5 separate regions of the Homo sapiens genome follow, and all the other regions are linked to region 4. Evidence: promoter capture Hi-C in 16 types of primary human blood cells and fetal thymus (Javierre and others, 2016). All regions are on one chromosome and are shown on one strand. Each heading gives the region's core, a stretch centred on a gene start or on the middle of the fragment in contact. The rest is flanking DNA. Distances are from core to core; before and after follow the strand shown.

Region 1 (2,700 bases), core at 154-2,653, 580 kb before region 4:
CTATCCCATACGTCCCCAGGCCTCCCCACCTCCAGCCTTTTTTTTTTTTTTGAGACAGATTCCCACTCTGTCACCCAGGCTGGAGTGCAGTCGCACAATCTTGGCTCACAGCAACCTCCACCTCCTAGGTTCAAGTGACTCTCCTGCCTCAGCCACCTGAGTAGCTGGGATTGCAGGCGTGCACCACCATGCCTGGCTAATATTTGTGTTTTTGGCAGAGATGGAGTTTTACCAGGTTGGCCAGGCTGGTCTTGAACTCCTGGCCTCTAGTGATCCTCCCTCTTCAACCTCCCAAAGTGCTGGGATTACAGGTGTGAGCCACAGGGACAGCCTCTCCTATGTTTTTGACCATGATTTTTTTTTTTTTTTGAGATGAAGTTTCGTTCTTGTCGCCCAGGCTGGAGTGCAATGGCGCAATCTCAGCTCACTGCAACCTTTGCCTCCTGGGTTCAAGCGATTTTCCTGCCTCAGCTTCCTGAGGGTGCCTGTAGCTGGGATTACAGGCGCCCGCCACCATGCCCAGCTAATTTTTGTATTTTTAGTTTCACCATGTTGGCCAGGCTGGTCTCGAACATCTGACCTCAGGTGATCCACCCACCTCAGCCTCCCAAAGTGCTGGGATTACTAGGCATGAACCATCGCATCTGGCCATTGATCATGATCTTCACTCTGCATTGCCCCCTAACCTGCAAGGGTTCTGGGTTCTCAGTAAACTTTTATTCTTCAGATGCTACTACCTCTAAGAAGTCTTTCCTGGTTTATCCCCTAGATCGGGGTCCCCAACCCCTGGACCCCATCAGGAATGGGTGGCACAGCAGAAGGTGAGCAGTGGGCAAGTGAGCATTACCGTTGGGGCTCCGCCTCCTGTTAGATCAGCAGCAGCATTAGATTCTCATAGGAGCACAAACCCTGTTGTGAACTGTGCATGCAAGGGGTCTAGGTTATGCGCTCCTATGAGACTCTAACGCCTGATGACCTGAGGTGGAAAAGTTTCATCTGAAACCATCCCAACCACCTCTACCAATCCATGGAAAAACTGTCTTCCACAAAACCAGCCTGGTGCCAAAGAGGCTGGGGACCGCTGCCCTAAATTCATTTACTTTCTGCCAAACAAAGGGAGGAAGGAATCCAACTAAAGCTAATTTTGTAACAAACAGTATTTAGATAGAATGTTACAAGAAAGACTAAATGTAACAGAGACAAAATGAAAAGCTTAGCTTTCAAACAAGAACTGAAAGAAATCATACTGCATTACAGAACTATACACAAAACTGAAGAAAGCAACTCAGATCCACTGCTTATACATTTAAATAAAATGTTATTAAATAATATACAAATCCTTAATAAAATCTCCATAACTGTTCTATCACCAATTACAATTTTTAAAAATATTTCATAAATGTGAAGAAATTAAGCCTCTGAACCTTTCTATGCCTTTTCTTCACCTACAAAATGAGGAAAATTGAGTAAACTTCTAAAATCACTTCCATTCTAAAGCCCTATGAAAATAATAATAAAACACAGAAAGTTTAATGAAAACTTGTCAGTAGATGCAAATGTTCAATTTTTTTAAGAGTGTATATTTTAAAATTCACTAAGCTTCACACTTCAGATTTGTTTATTTAAGTTACATCTCAATAAAAATGTTAGAGATCAGAAAATACAAACCAAAACAAAATTTTTTAAAAATTTAGTATTTTGTTTAAAGTCTGGCAACCATGGTAAACTTTTATAGACTAATAGTAAGACTAAACAAAAATAAAGTTTATATAAGGAAATTACTTTTTTAAGCTGAGTACAATGGCAAGAGCCTGCAGTCCCAGCTACTCCGAAGGCGTGGTGGAAAGACTGCTTGAGCCCAGGAGTTCAAGACCAGCCTGGGTAACACAGAGAGACTTTGTATCTAAACATTTTTAAAATTAAAAAGCCCCAAAAAACAAGAAAAGTCCACCAAGACTAATTTAATTGTAGAGTATAAATCTGAGTCAAGGTTATTATGGCCAAAAATCATTTTATATATTTGAGAAACATTTCAAGCTATAAAATACTATATAATCTCTTTGTAGAAATCTATGACATGAACATGACTAAATAAACAATCCTTTTAACTAATTTTGACCACAAATGACCTTAATTCAAAATACACAAATAAGTCCAATGATGTCAAATATTAGATTTGTTCCTGATCTTTTAATTTCCAGCTGTATATAATACATAATTATCGATATTCTCCTATATCGAAAGAAAGTAAAATGCTCTTTAAAGTAGAATATATTATTTGGTTTTTTGTTTGTTTTTGTTTTGTTTTGTTTTTTTGAGACAGCCTATTGCCCAAGTTGGAGTGCAGTGGCACCATCTCAGCTCACTGCAACCTCCACCTCCGGGGTTCAAGCAATCCTCCAACCAGGACTCCAGGAGTCCTGAGTAGCTAGGACTACAGGCACATGCCACCACCCCCCAGCTAATTTTTTTTTTTTTTTTTTTTTTTTTTTTTTTTAGTAGAGATGGGGTTTCACCACATTGTCTAGGCTGGTCTCAAACTCCTGACCTCAAGTGATCCACCTGCTTTAGCCTCCCAAAGTGTTGGGATTACAGGTGTGAGCCATGGCACCCGGCCTATTTTTGACTTTTGTATTTAAGATTTGTTTTGAACAATTTCTAATTAAGAATGCAATAATGGCCAGGGGCGGTGGCTCACGC
Region 2 (2,858 bases), core at 148-2,647, 600 kb before region 4:
AATGTCATTCATCACTAAGAAAGTACTGGCAGGATTTCTTCTGGGCTCCTCTATTGAGCAATATTCATTAGCCATGTGTTCCTGGAATCATAGTACAGAATAGTTTTCCATTGCAAAGCAGTACTAGAGAGGATTATCTGCAGATATCAGAAGAAAATCCTTTTCAATAACTCTAATTTGTTGATTCTACCAAAACATTTGATATATCAGTTATATAACATGACAAACAGTACTGAGTATCTGGACACAGGTATGTTTATCAACATCAACGGTAACTACTAAGGAAGTAAGTAATATAGTTTTATCGTGTTTCAGAATTCAAAGTCCTATCAAACACACTCCTCGTAAGTGAAAATGCTACAACCAGTTTTATCAAATAGCTGCATTAAAAAAAAAGCCAAATATATACACATAAAATTCAATCCAAGTAATCATCAGAAATCCTAGACAGTTATCCAAAAAGACTACACTAGAAATACATTCATGACACTTCAGACAATGGCCTGGACTTTTATTAAATGAGGCCCAAGGATATAATTGAAATCATAAATTAATGTAAAATGATCATATACAGCTCAAGATTTTCATTCATAATGTATCTATTACTTTTCTTTCCTAACTCATAACACATTGCTAAGTGACGAGCTGTCCCAGAGAACAGTATTCCTACATTTTTCTGACAAACAAGTTATAAGAAATTGGTTCATTTGGGCCTATACATACTTAGCCAGGTCAAGAGACAATATGGCACCACATTTTTCCTGCCGCTAGGAAAACTATTTTCTAGGCTCAAAACAACTTTACACTGGGCTTCTTCCTAAAATTCACAGATACAAGGTAGGAGCCACACCCTATGCCAAATCATCCATAAGATCCTTGAATTCAGTCATTCAAAAATGAAATTATACTATAAAAATGCACATTATACAAGATTTGACACACGAAAGGTAATATTAACCCTTCCCCTGCTTTAGTACTCCCACACACTTAGTATGTATCCTTATTTTATCATTCATAAAACCATTTAATAGGTGATTTCCCCCATAACACTGTGAACTTAAATATTAAGAACCAGATATGTCCTGTTTATCTTTGTTATCCTCATTGCCTAGAAATGCTCTGGTCATAATAGTTTTTCATGGAACACTGAATAAGAACAGAATACCTAAAAGACACTTACATAGAAAGCTGAAGTAGACAAATAAGAAATCAGATAAATAGAAGGTAAATTTTAAGAACACACAAATTTAGAATCAAGCAAAAAGGCAGCAGCCGTATCAGGAAGAAAGCACTGGTCTGGAGGTGCTGGAATGTCTTTGGAATTGATAAATTCTAATCTAGATTTTGGCAGTAACAAATGTTATAACCTAAGCAAATCACTCTGACTCCCTGGATCTCAATTTTCTCATTTGTAAAATATAAGACTAAATGAGTTCTATATTTCCTCATATGATATAAGGATGATTTTAAAGCAGCAAGAACATTTACTCCTGAAAAACAGCACCAACAGAACAGATATAATATACAATGTTGGATAACATGACTCTTAAGCAAAGGATATCATACAGGTGGAATTATACAACTCCATAAAAAGTAATAGGTCATACCAACACCAGCCACAAGCCAAACAGGAATTATGTACACATATCTCTAATGTGGAAATTAATGACACATTCATACACTGAATAAATCTAAAAAAGAATCAAGTTCTGCCAGAGGCAAAGGTTGAGAGATGTGAAAAGACAGTGATATAAAGGCAAAATTGTTATTCCCTAGTAGGAACCAGAATACAGATCATATCTAGCATTCATGCACGTGCACAATACAAACACAGAAGAACAATACAAAAAGCATCTTTATGCTTTTCTATGAATTGAAAAGCTCCTTAAAACAAATCCCATAATTATTTAGGCTAGAATATTTCACAATATCTCACAACATTTAGCAAAAATTAATCTAGGATAACTTTCTCATTGCTCCAACGAGAGTCTCGTTGGTACATTAAGAAGAAAACACGCAGGGAATCAAAGACATTCCTAACCTTGAAACAACTCACCGGCCTATGTTCCAACTTCAAAATAATTTACTTTTGCTTTAAAACAAATGAACCTTCCACCTCAGATAATAAGGTGCAACGGTAATCAATTTTGAACTCAATGACTACCAGATTCAATACACCAATGTTTATAATCAATACTTTTTAAAAATATAGGCTCTGTTGTCAATACTATGCTAGTATTGTAAAAGATAGAACTAAAAGGTAAAAACTCTGCCCACAGGAAAATCTTCCTAACCTTACTAGCAAGGTAGTTTCAGGTTATAAACACATTGCCCTATTTTTCCAAAATCCTTCCCAAGGAAAGACATAGGAAGAAAGGTGAGCAATTCCAATACACATGTATATTTCAAGATATTTTTAAGCTAGAAGAGGTCTCCACAAAACAAATTTTACAAACAAAACAGATCCAGACATATGGAAACAAAATACATTGTACCCCAAAGGGCATTTCTACAAAGGCAGTAGACAGCACCTCAAATGCATCACCTCGCACATAAGAATACTTTACAACAGAAAACAGAAATAACTTCTCAAGCAAAATCATTATGGATAAAAACAAAACAAACATTCAAAAGACTTTTAATTTATTAATATATAAAGTTGAATGAAGCTGTTAACTATTATGTGTCCTATTAAGAAGAAAAATTAATTTGAGAGCTTCAAATTTAAAATGACTTTTTTTTTCTTTTTTTTTTTTTTTTGAGACGGAGTCTTGCTCTGTTGCCCAGGCTGGAGTGCAGTGGCACGGTCTCAGCTCACTGCAACCTCCACCTCCTGGGTTCAAGTGATTCTCCTGCCT
Region 3 (2,873 bases), core at 268-2,767, 560 kb before region 4:
CACGGTGTTAGCCAGGATGGTCTCGATCTCCTGACCTTGTGATCCGCCCGCCTCGGCCTCCCAAAGTGCTGGGATTACAGGCATGAGCCACCACTCCTGGCCTATACGTCTTTTTAGTGGAATATAGATACAGAAGAAATAAGGTAAATTAGATCACTAGGAGTTGTAGTGAATGAAGTCAGAGAATATATAACTTCTCTTTTTGCACAAAAAAAGATAAAGGAAAAACTCTAATATGTTTTTAGGTAGAAAAAGAGCAAGGAAAAACTGAGGCTGTGAGAAAGGTATAATTGGTATGGCAGGTCTCTGGAGCAGGAGAGGACAGGGTCAGCTTCATAGATGGGGTCATTAGGATGTGAAAGATGGAGCAATGACTTCTCTGAGACCAGAAATAATAACAAGAATACAAGCAAAGTAACTAGCACAATTCCCAGTGTGATGGTTAATTTTATGTGTCAACTTGACTGGATCACAGGATACCCAGGTATTTGCTCAAACATTATTCTTGGTCTGTCTATGAGGGTGTTTCTGGATGAAATTAACATTTGAATCTATAGACTGAGTAAAGCAAACTGCCATCCCTAATGTGGGTGGACCTCACGCAATCAGTTGAGGGCTAAATAGAACAAAAAGGCTAAGTAAGAGAGAGTTCCTTCTGCCTGACTGCCTTTGAGCTGGAACATTGGTGTTTTTCAGGCTCAAACTGTAATACTGGCTCTTCTCAGGTCTTGAGCCTACTTGCCTTCAGATTGGAACTTTACCATCTGCTCTCCTGGTTCTCAGGCCTTCAGGGGAGTCTAGAACTATGCCACTGACTCTCCTGGTCTCCAGTTTTTCAACTTCAAATCTTGGGATTTAGTCTCGATGATCATGTGAGTCAATTCCGTATAATAAATCTCAGACAGATAGATAGATAGATAGATAGATAGATAGATAGATAGATAGATCGATAGATAGATCTATCTTTCATTGCTTTTGTTTCTCTGGAGAACCCTAATATAACCAGTATTTAGTAAATGTTTAATGTGTGTTGAATGACAATTATAGAGGAAATCAGAAGTGGAGAGGATGTATGCAGAGGGAGCTGTGAGAAGTGGACAGCTGCCCACACTAACCAGTGAGACTAAAGACCCAGCCAAGTTCTTCAGGGAGATTGCTTTGGTAGCTATGGGAATAATATGGACAAGCAAGCAAGTCATCTGGACTCTTGATGGGCTGAGATGCCACGCTGGCAAGCAGGTGGTCAACCTCTAGGAGATTCAACAAGCATGCCTGTGAGGGTTCAGAGCGCTGTGTCAGGAATGTGATGGGAAGTAACAGGCAAAGGCAAAATATTACTGGTATTAAGGAAATGGCGTTAAAGAAAACGGACACTTCACTGTCTACTTGTGTCAGAGCTTCCCCATGGTCATTTAATCTAACACGCCTGTAAGCTAAGTGTTCCTACTTTTTCAGAAAAAGAAATGGAAACTAAGTAACATGAATTAACATAGTCCAGGGTCACAAAGCAACATGGAACAAGAACCTGGATCTGAATTCAGAGGCAGAATGCTGGGTAAGTATGACGATGCTTATTGTTGGCCCACCTGTGGGAATTGGGGGTTAGGGACAGGTTTCCCAACCTTGTGATGACTATAGGAACCGGGATTCAAGGGAGACACAGGCATAAAGGAAGATGTCAGGGAGACCATCAACAAAGTATCATGTAAGGCAGGAATTTGCTCACAGGAAAATGGGAAGGATAAAAGGGGACGTTAGTGAGAATGTCATTTTAATATTCAGTTCACTAATCTCCAAAGACCGATGTTCTAAAAGAAAGTGTGAATAAAATAGTTTAACATCTTATTATGCAATATCTATCACTGATGATAGGCACATAAGGAGTTCTCGTTACATCTACTTAATTTGCCAGATTAACTGATGCTCCTTGTTCCTTCTTTCTTTACTTTTTCTTTTTAGAGATAGGGTCTTGTTCTGTCGCCCAGGCTTGGGTGCAATGGCATGATCACAGCTCACTGCAGCCTCGAACTCCTGGGCTCTAGTGATTCTCTTGCCTCAGCCTCCCTTGTAGTTGGACTACAGGTACAAATCACCATGTCTGGCTCTTGTTCTTTAACACATGCTTGTAGCTCAAAACTAGTAGAATTCCCTCTGATACATTTGTGAACCTCTGCTCCTACTACAAGTTTTATGCTACTGAAGTCAGTTGCCTTTTTCTCAAACCTGCTTATACCAATTAAACTTGTTATTGAAATTAATTAATTAAATAGGTAAACCAGTGAAATATGAAACAAAAGTCAGTCACTAAAGAAATTACTGGCAAATTAAGTATAAGCAAAACAACTGCAAAAGTCTCGAAAAAGTGAGTAGAAATTTACAGATATTTTGTTGGCAAATGAAATACATTTGTAGTTTAAGTTAAAATTTAAAATTAAAGATATGTATGTATCATTTTTAAATTTCTCTGTTTAAATTGACTTTTTCCCTTCACCAATCACAATATCAGTGTTGGATAAGGGAACTTTCACTATATCCTGTGTTGTATTTGTATGGTACTTTTGATCATTCTTTTAATAAAAGCACAATCTATCTAGAAAAGCAAAAATAAAGACTGGAGTCCATGTTCTTTTAGTGACTCCATTCAGCACTTTCATGTGAATTCTCAGTACTGCATCTATTACTACATATCTTCGTAAACTGTTCCTCTAACTCTTAGGGAGAATATGATTCTTACATACTAAAGTTTGTATCATGAACATTTATGGCTCACTTGTATTCACAAGATTATGAGGAATTATGCATTCAGGAGCAGGTTAGGTTGTCATCATCATTGTTTTTTCATGATAAGCCAATGTGTACAGCATGTTAATAGT
Region 4 (2,700 bases), core at 146-2,645:
TCTGTGTGAAACCCTCAGTGGAGGAAATAGCAAAGAACTAGAAGTCATGGTCTCATTTGAAGGACTGTACTTCTAATTCAATAAAAAATGTAGAAAACATCATTTTTAGTATGACCAACATGGAGAAACCCTGACTCTACTAAAAATACAAAATTAGCCGGGCGTGGTGGTGCATGTCTGTAATTCCAGCTACTCGGGAGGCTGAGGCGGGAGAAGCACTTGAACCCGGGAGGCAGAGATTGTCAGCCAAGATGGCGCCATTGCACTCCAGCCTGGGCAACAAGAGTGAAACTGTCTCCAAAAAAAAAAAAAAAATCAAATCTTCTTTATAACTGTAAGAAAATAGTTATCTACAACTTTTTGCTTGATTTTAACCTAATATATTCTTTTTTTTGTTTTTGTTTTTGTTTTTTTGAGACGGAGTTTCACACTTGTTGCCCAGGCAGGAGTGCAGTGATGCAGTCTCGGCTCTCAGTCTCTCAGGGTAGGTAGCAGGCTTTTTTTTTTTTTTTTTTTTGAGATGGAGTCTCACTCTGTCACCCAGGCTGGAGTTCGGTGGCATGATCACGGCTCACTGCAACCTCCGCCTCCTGGGTTCAAGCGATTCTCCTGCCTCAGCCTCCTGAGTAGCTGGGATTACAGGTGCGTGCCACCGTGTCTGGCTAATTTTTGTAACTTAATATATTCTTAACCATTACATTCTATTTTAGGTATCCTGAAGCAGTTTATGTTGTTTATACCGGCGATGTTAATGTCAACGGTCAACAGATACTAGAAGGTGCTTTCAGAAGATTTAACATCAGATTAATTCACCCAGTGCAGTTTGTTTTTTTAAGGAAACGCTATCTTGTGGAAGATTCACTGTATCCTCACTTCACACTGCTGGGCCAAAGTCTAGGATCCATTTTTCTTGGCTGGGAAGCTCTAATGCAGTGTGTTCCTGATGTTTACATTGATTCAATGGGATACGCTTTTACGCTTCCTCTGTTTAAGTATATAGGGGGTTGCCAAGTTGGAAGCTATGTTCATTATCCTACTATCAGCACCGACATGCTCTCTGTAGTGAAGAATCAAAATATTGGATTTAATAATGCAGCCTTCATTACCAGGAATCCTTTTCTCAGCAAAGTAAAGCTCATCTACTACTATTTATTTGCTTTTATTTATGGACTTGTTGGTTCTTGCAGTGATGTAGTCATGGTCAATTCTTCTTGGACACTAAACCATATTCTCTCACTATGGAAAGTTGGGAATTGCACTAACATTGTTTATCCACCTTGTGATGTGCAGACATTTCTGGACATTCCCTTACATGAGAAAAAGATGACCCCAGGACATTTGCTGGTTTCTGTTGGCCAGTTTAGGCCGGAAAAGAATCATCCATTGCAGATCAGAGCCTTTGCTAAATTGCTGAATAAGAAGATGGTTGAGTCACCTCCTTCGCTTAAACTTGTCCTCATTGGAGGTTGTCGTAACAAAGATGATGAACTTAGGGTAAACCAACTGAGAAGGCTGTCTGAGGATTTAGGAGTTCAAGAATATGTGGAATTTAAAATAAACATTCCATTTGATGAATTAAAGAATTATTTGTCTGAAGCAACAATTGGTCTGCATACCATGTGGAACGAGCATTTTGGGATTGGTGAGTTTGGCCTTTAAACAACTTGTTTGGTGCCATGAGATACACATTTTAAGTTCTTTTGATAAAATGATAATACTCTGGAAATCTGCATCATGCCCTAATTCTCTTGCCCTCATCCACCAAATGTGCTTTCCTCACTTGAGACCTTGTAAGATAGTAGTTAATAATAGCAGCTAGTATTTATTGACCAATTCCTGTGTGTGGGCCACTGTGTTGAGATTTTTACATGTATTATCTAATTTAAGCCTTTCTAAACCCGTTTGATAGGTGTTATTGTTATTCCCATTTTATAAATAAAGAAACTCAGGCACAGGAAGGTTTAGAAATTGCTCGAGTTCAGTTACACAGTAAGTGGTAGAGCCCGGATTCTAACCCAGATAGCCCCTGCTCTTAACAGCAACATTTTCTCTCTCCATCTAACCCCACTACATACTTACTGGTACAGATTCCTGGGCCCTACCCTAATCCTACAGAATGGCCAAATGAGAATCTCTGGACAAGGCCCAGGTAGATGTATTTTGATAATGCTGCTTAAGTGATTCTGTTATGCATCAAAAGTTGAGAACCACTGTTTGCATAGGGGCTTCTCACAGTAACTCTTTTAGTCTTTTATTGATTCTACCCTCACCATTGGAATGGCTCTCCTCTTTGTGCCAGATTGCATCATAAGTCTTCAACTTAAATCTCCTTGCACTTTAGCCTTTCTTGTTTATTCTGGCACAAACTGCTATCTCTATTCTGACCTGTTAAGCACACATTTTGCTATAAAATCAAGTACTGCTTTGTGTTTAATTTGGGTCCACATATATTTCTCAAGCGCTTTGTGCCTCACACTGTTAGTTGTTAGGGGAAATGAGGATAACATAAAAGTGACATTTCCTAAACTAAGACTTCAATTTCTCTTATACTCTTTTTACTCCTAGTTAGTAGTGTAGTGCTAGGCCCAGACATTAAGCAAGAACTTGTTGACCCAACCTGTTGCATGGGATCTGACCTCCTGTGCTTCCTTCCATAGAAACTTACTAAGCATTCACTCTGCTGAGCGCTTGGGTGGATGC
Region 5 (2,700 bases), core at 148-2,647, 620 kb before region 4:
CGCATACATACACCATAAGAGTGTTTCTGTACGGTATGGCCAGGCATAGTGGTTCATGCCTAAATCCCAGCAATTTGGGACTTGAGGCCAGGAGTTTGAGACCAGTCTGGCCAACACAGCAAAAGCTCGTCTGTACTAAAAATACAAAAATTAGCCAGACATGGTGGCACACGCCTGTAATCCCAGCTACTCGGGAGGCTGAGGCTGGAGAATCGCTTGAACCCAAGAGGCAGAGGTTGCAGTGAGCCAAGATCGTGCCACTGCACTCCAGCCTGGGCAACAGAGTGAGACTCGGTCTCAAAAAAAAAAAAAAAAGTACAATAACATTTTCAATGCTAAAGTATAACTATAGATAATTGTTAAATAATAGCCCAAATTATTCAGAATCTACCATAAAACATTTAGACTAGAATAAACCATTGAGATGGGTTTTTTTTTTTTTTGAAATGGAGTTTCGCTCTTGTTGCCCAGGCTGGAGTGCAGTGGTGCAATCTCGACTCACTGCAACCTCTGCCTCCCAGGTTCAAGTGATTCTCCTTCCTCAGCCTCCCGAGTAGCTGGGATTACAGGCGCCTGCCACCATGCCCAGCTAACTTTTTGTATTTTTAGTAGAGACGGGGTTTCACTATGTTAGCCAGGCTGGTCTTGAACTCCTGACCTCAGGTGATCCACCCTCCTTGGTGTCCCAAAGTGCTGGGATTACAGGCAAGAGCCACTGCACCCGGTCATTGAGTTTTATTAATAAGTCAGAAAGTTCATTTAAAGCACATTGGCCAGGAATCTTAAAAATTATAAAGGAAAAGCTTTGAATCATTTTGGAGAGCCATTATTTTTCCAGGTAACTGAGAGCACTTAATGCCTCAAGCACAAAAACATCAACAGAAACCTTCTGTAGTATGTTATGTATGTCCCTATTTGTGAAACTAGGTTGTATTAAAAAATAATAATCTCTTTCTTGATAACTCAAAGAAGTAGGAAAAAAACTTAAAGACCTTTTGACCACACCAAATATTGCCCATAATCACACAAGTTAAGAGACTGATAATTCATCATTTACTGAATGCTTATAATGTGACAAGGTTTCAATGAGTTACCTTGCTTTAATCATCTTATTTAATCCTCCAACAAACCTAAAACCTATAACTTAAATTCTAAGGTGTATCATCACTTTAATATATTTCTTTGCTTCCCCAAATTTAACATTAAATGTGCATAAAAATTTTTCCAACTATAGCATAAAATTATCTAGGCAGCTGCATATCCCTTTCTTCTTCCATATCATAGCTCCATAGCATTTGAGTATCACAGAGTTTGAGTCTACGCCTTCCCCAGACTAAGTCTACTAATTAAATTCCTTTTGGCCATTAGAAGTTAAGCAGAGCATCAGGGTCATATTTTATAACGTGTGCTTAATGATCTTGACCTTTTTAGCACCATGAGTTTGAAAAATGTAATTTCAGCTGGGCACAGTGGAGGCAGAGGTTGTAGTGAGCCGAGATTGCACCACTGCACTCCAGCCTGGGTGACAGAGTGAGAATCCGTCTCAAATAATAATAATAATAATAATAATAATAATAATAATAATAATAATAATAATAGTATAACTTCAAGGTATACTAAAGACTCTGAGTATTTCATTCGTACTTTCTAGGAGAATATTTATATTCTTATTTCAATTACAAACTACCAGCCAATATAACACTTATCTTTTAAATGTTGGCTTTGGACAGATATTAGATTCCTCAGTAACAGTTTTTCATAGTCAGTGAAACAGTTATGATACCATCTCATAGCTTTGATAGTTTTATTTGTTTTCTCAGAAATTTGGCAATGTCAACTGCCTTTATTTGTGCTGTCTGATATAGGTTAGGTAATTTATTATTTGTATTTTTTTTGTTACAATGCTAATTCATCATAGGTAGTATTTTTTTTAATTTTAAGGAACAATTGGTGTTCCTTAAAATTAAATGTTAATGTTAACAAATTAATGTTAAGCTTCTAGATTTCAAGACAAGACAACAATGTCCATTCTCACTACTTCCACCAGTACATTGAAGCAAGAAAAAGAAATAAAAGGCAGACAGATTTGGAAAGGAAGAAGTGTACCTGTCTATATTCAGACAAGATGATTTTGTACGTAAAAAGCTTCAAGGAATCTAGAAAAGCTACTAGGTAACAAGAAAATTTAGAAAGGTCACAGGATACCAGGTAAAGATGCAAAAAAATCAACTGTTTATGTACTAACAACAAATCATCAGAAGTTGAAAGTAAAAAGACCAATCAATAATAACATCAAAATATATAAAATACCCAACATATGTATAAACTCCCATCTGAAAACTACAAATATTGCTGAAAAAATCAAACACTTAAATCTGAAAAATATGCCATGCTCATGGATCAGAATAGCCAATAAGGTAAAAAGTGTCATTTTTCCCTCAAACTGATTTATAGATTCAATGTAATTCCAATAAAAATTGCAGTAAGCTTTCTTATAAAAACTAATAAACCTGATTCTAAATTTACATGTAAACTCAAAGGACCTAGAATAAACAAAGCAATTTGGATAAAAACAAAGTTGGAGACTTAACTAAATGATTTCAAAACTCGTTATAAAACCACAGTAGTTGACACCATGTTGTATTGCCGAAGACACAGGTTATCAACAAAACAGAATAGAAAGTCCAGAAACAGCCACAC

The links. Contacts are between HindIII fragments. The CHiCAGO score rates a contact against its expected background, and 5 or more counts as called.
Region 1: a contact is called between a fragment that was not itself captured here and the fragment with the promoter of UTP14C in region 4, in 1 of 17 cell types (naive CD4 T cells). The highest score is 5.1, in naive CD4 T cells.
Region 2: a contact is called between a fragment that was not itself captured here and the fragment with the promoter of UTP14C in region 4, in 1 of 17 cell types (neutrophils). The highest score is 7.5, in neutrophils.
Region 3: a contact is called between a fragment that was not itself captured here and the fragment with the promoter of UTP14C in region 4, in 1 of 17 cell types (neutrophils). The highest score is 5.8, in neutrophils.
Region 5: a fragment that was not itself captured here is called in contact with the fragment with the promoter of UTP14C in region 4 in 1 of 17 cell types (non-activated CD4 T cells); the score reaches 5.0 in non-activated CD4 T cells.

Annotation. Positions count from the first base shown.
Region 1 is chr13:51,441,788-51,444,487 of GRCh38, forward strand. All of the region lies in intron 3 of INTS6 (integrator complex subunit 6), which reads right to left. Among named protein-coding and RNA genes, the nearest start is that of INTS6, 9.9 kb to the right of the region's middle. The HindIII fragment of the contact is 387 bases long and covers 1,211-1,597 here.
Region 2 is chr13:51,425,583-51,428,440 of GRCh38, forward strand. The region is part of intron 4 of INTS6 (integrator complex subunit 6); the gene reads right to left. Among named protein-coding and RNA genes, the nearest start is that of INTS6, 26 kb to the right of the region's middle. The HindIII fragment of the contact is 8,376 bases long and covers 1-2,858 here.
Region 3 is chr13:51,466,813-51,469,685 of GRCh38, forward strand. No RefSeq gene overlaps it. Among named protein-coding and RNA genes, the nearest start is that of INTS6-AS1, 15 kb to the left of the region's middle. The HindIII fragment of the contact is 4,257 bases long and covers 1-2,873 here.
Region 4 is chr13:52,023,296-52,025,995 of GRCh38, forward strand. UTP14C (UTP14C small subunit processome component) reads left to right here and starts at 1,396. Exons shown (of 2, transcript NM_021645.6): 1 at 1,396-1,642. ALG11 (ALG11 alpha-1,2-mannosyltransferase) reads left to right here. Exons shown (of 4, transcript NM_001004127.3): 3 at 711-1,642. The HindIII fragment of the contact is 12,744 bases long and covers 1-2,700 here.
Region 5 is chr13:51,407,718-51,410,417 of GRCh38, forward strand. All of the region lies in intron 4 of INTS6 (integrator complex subunit 6), which reads right to left. Among named protein-coding and RNA genes, the nearest start is that of INTS6, 44 kb to the right of the region's middle. The HindIII fragment of the contact is 1,192 bases long and covers 802-1,993 here.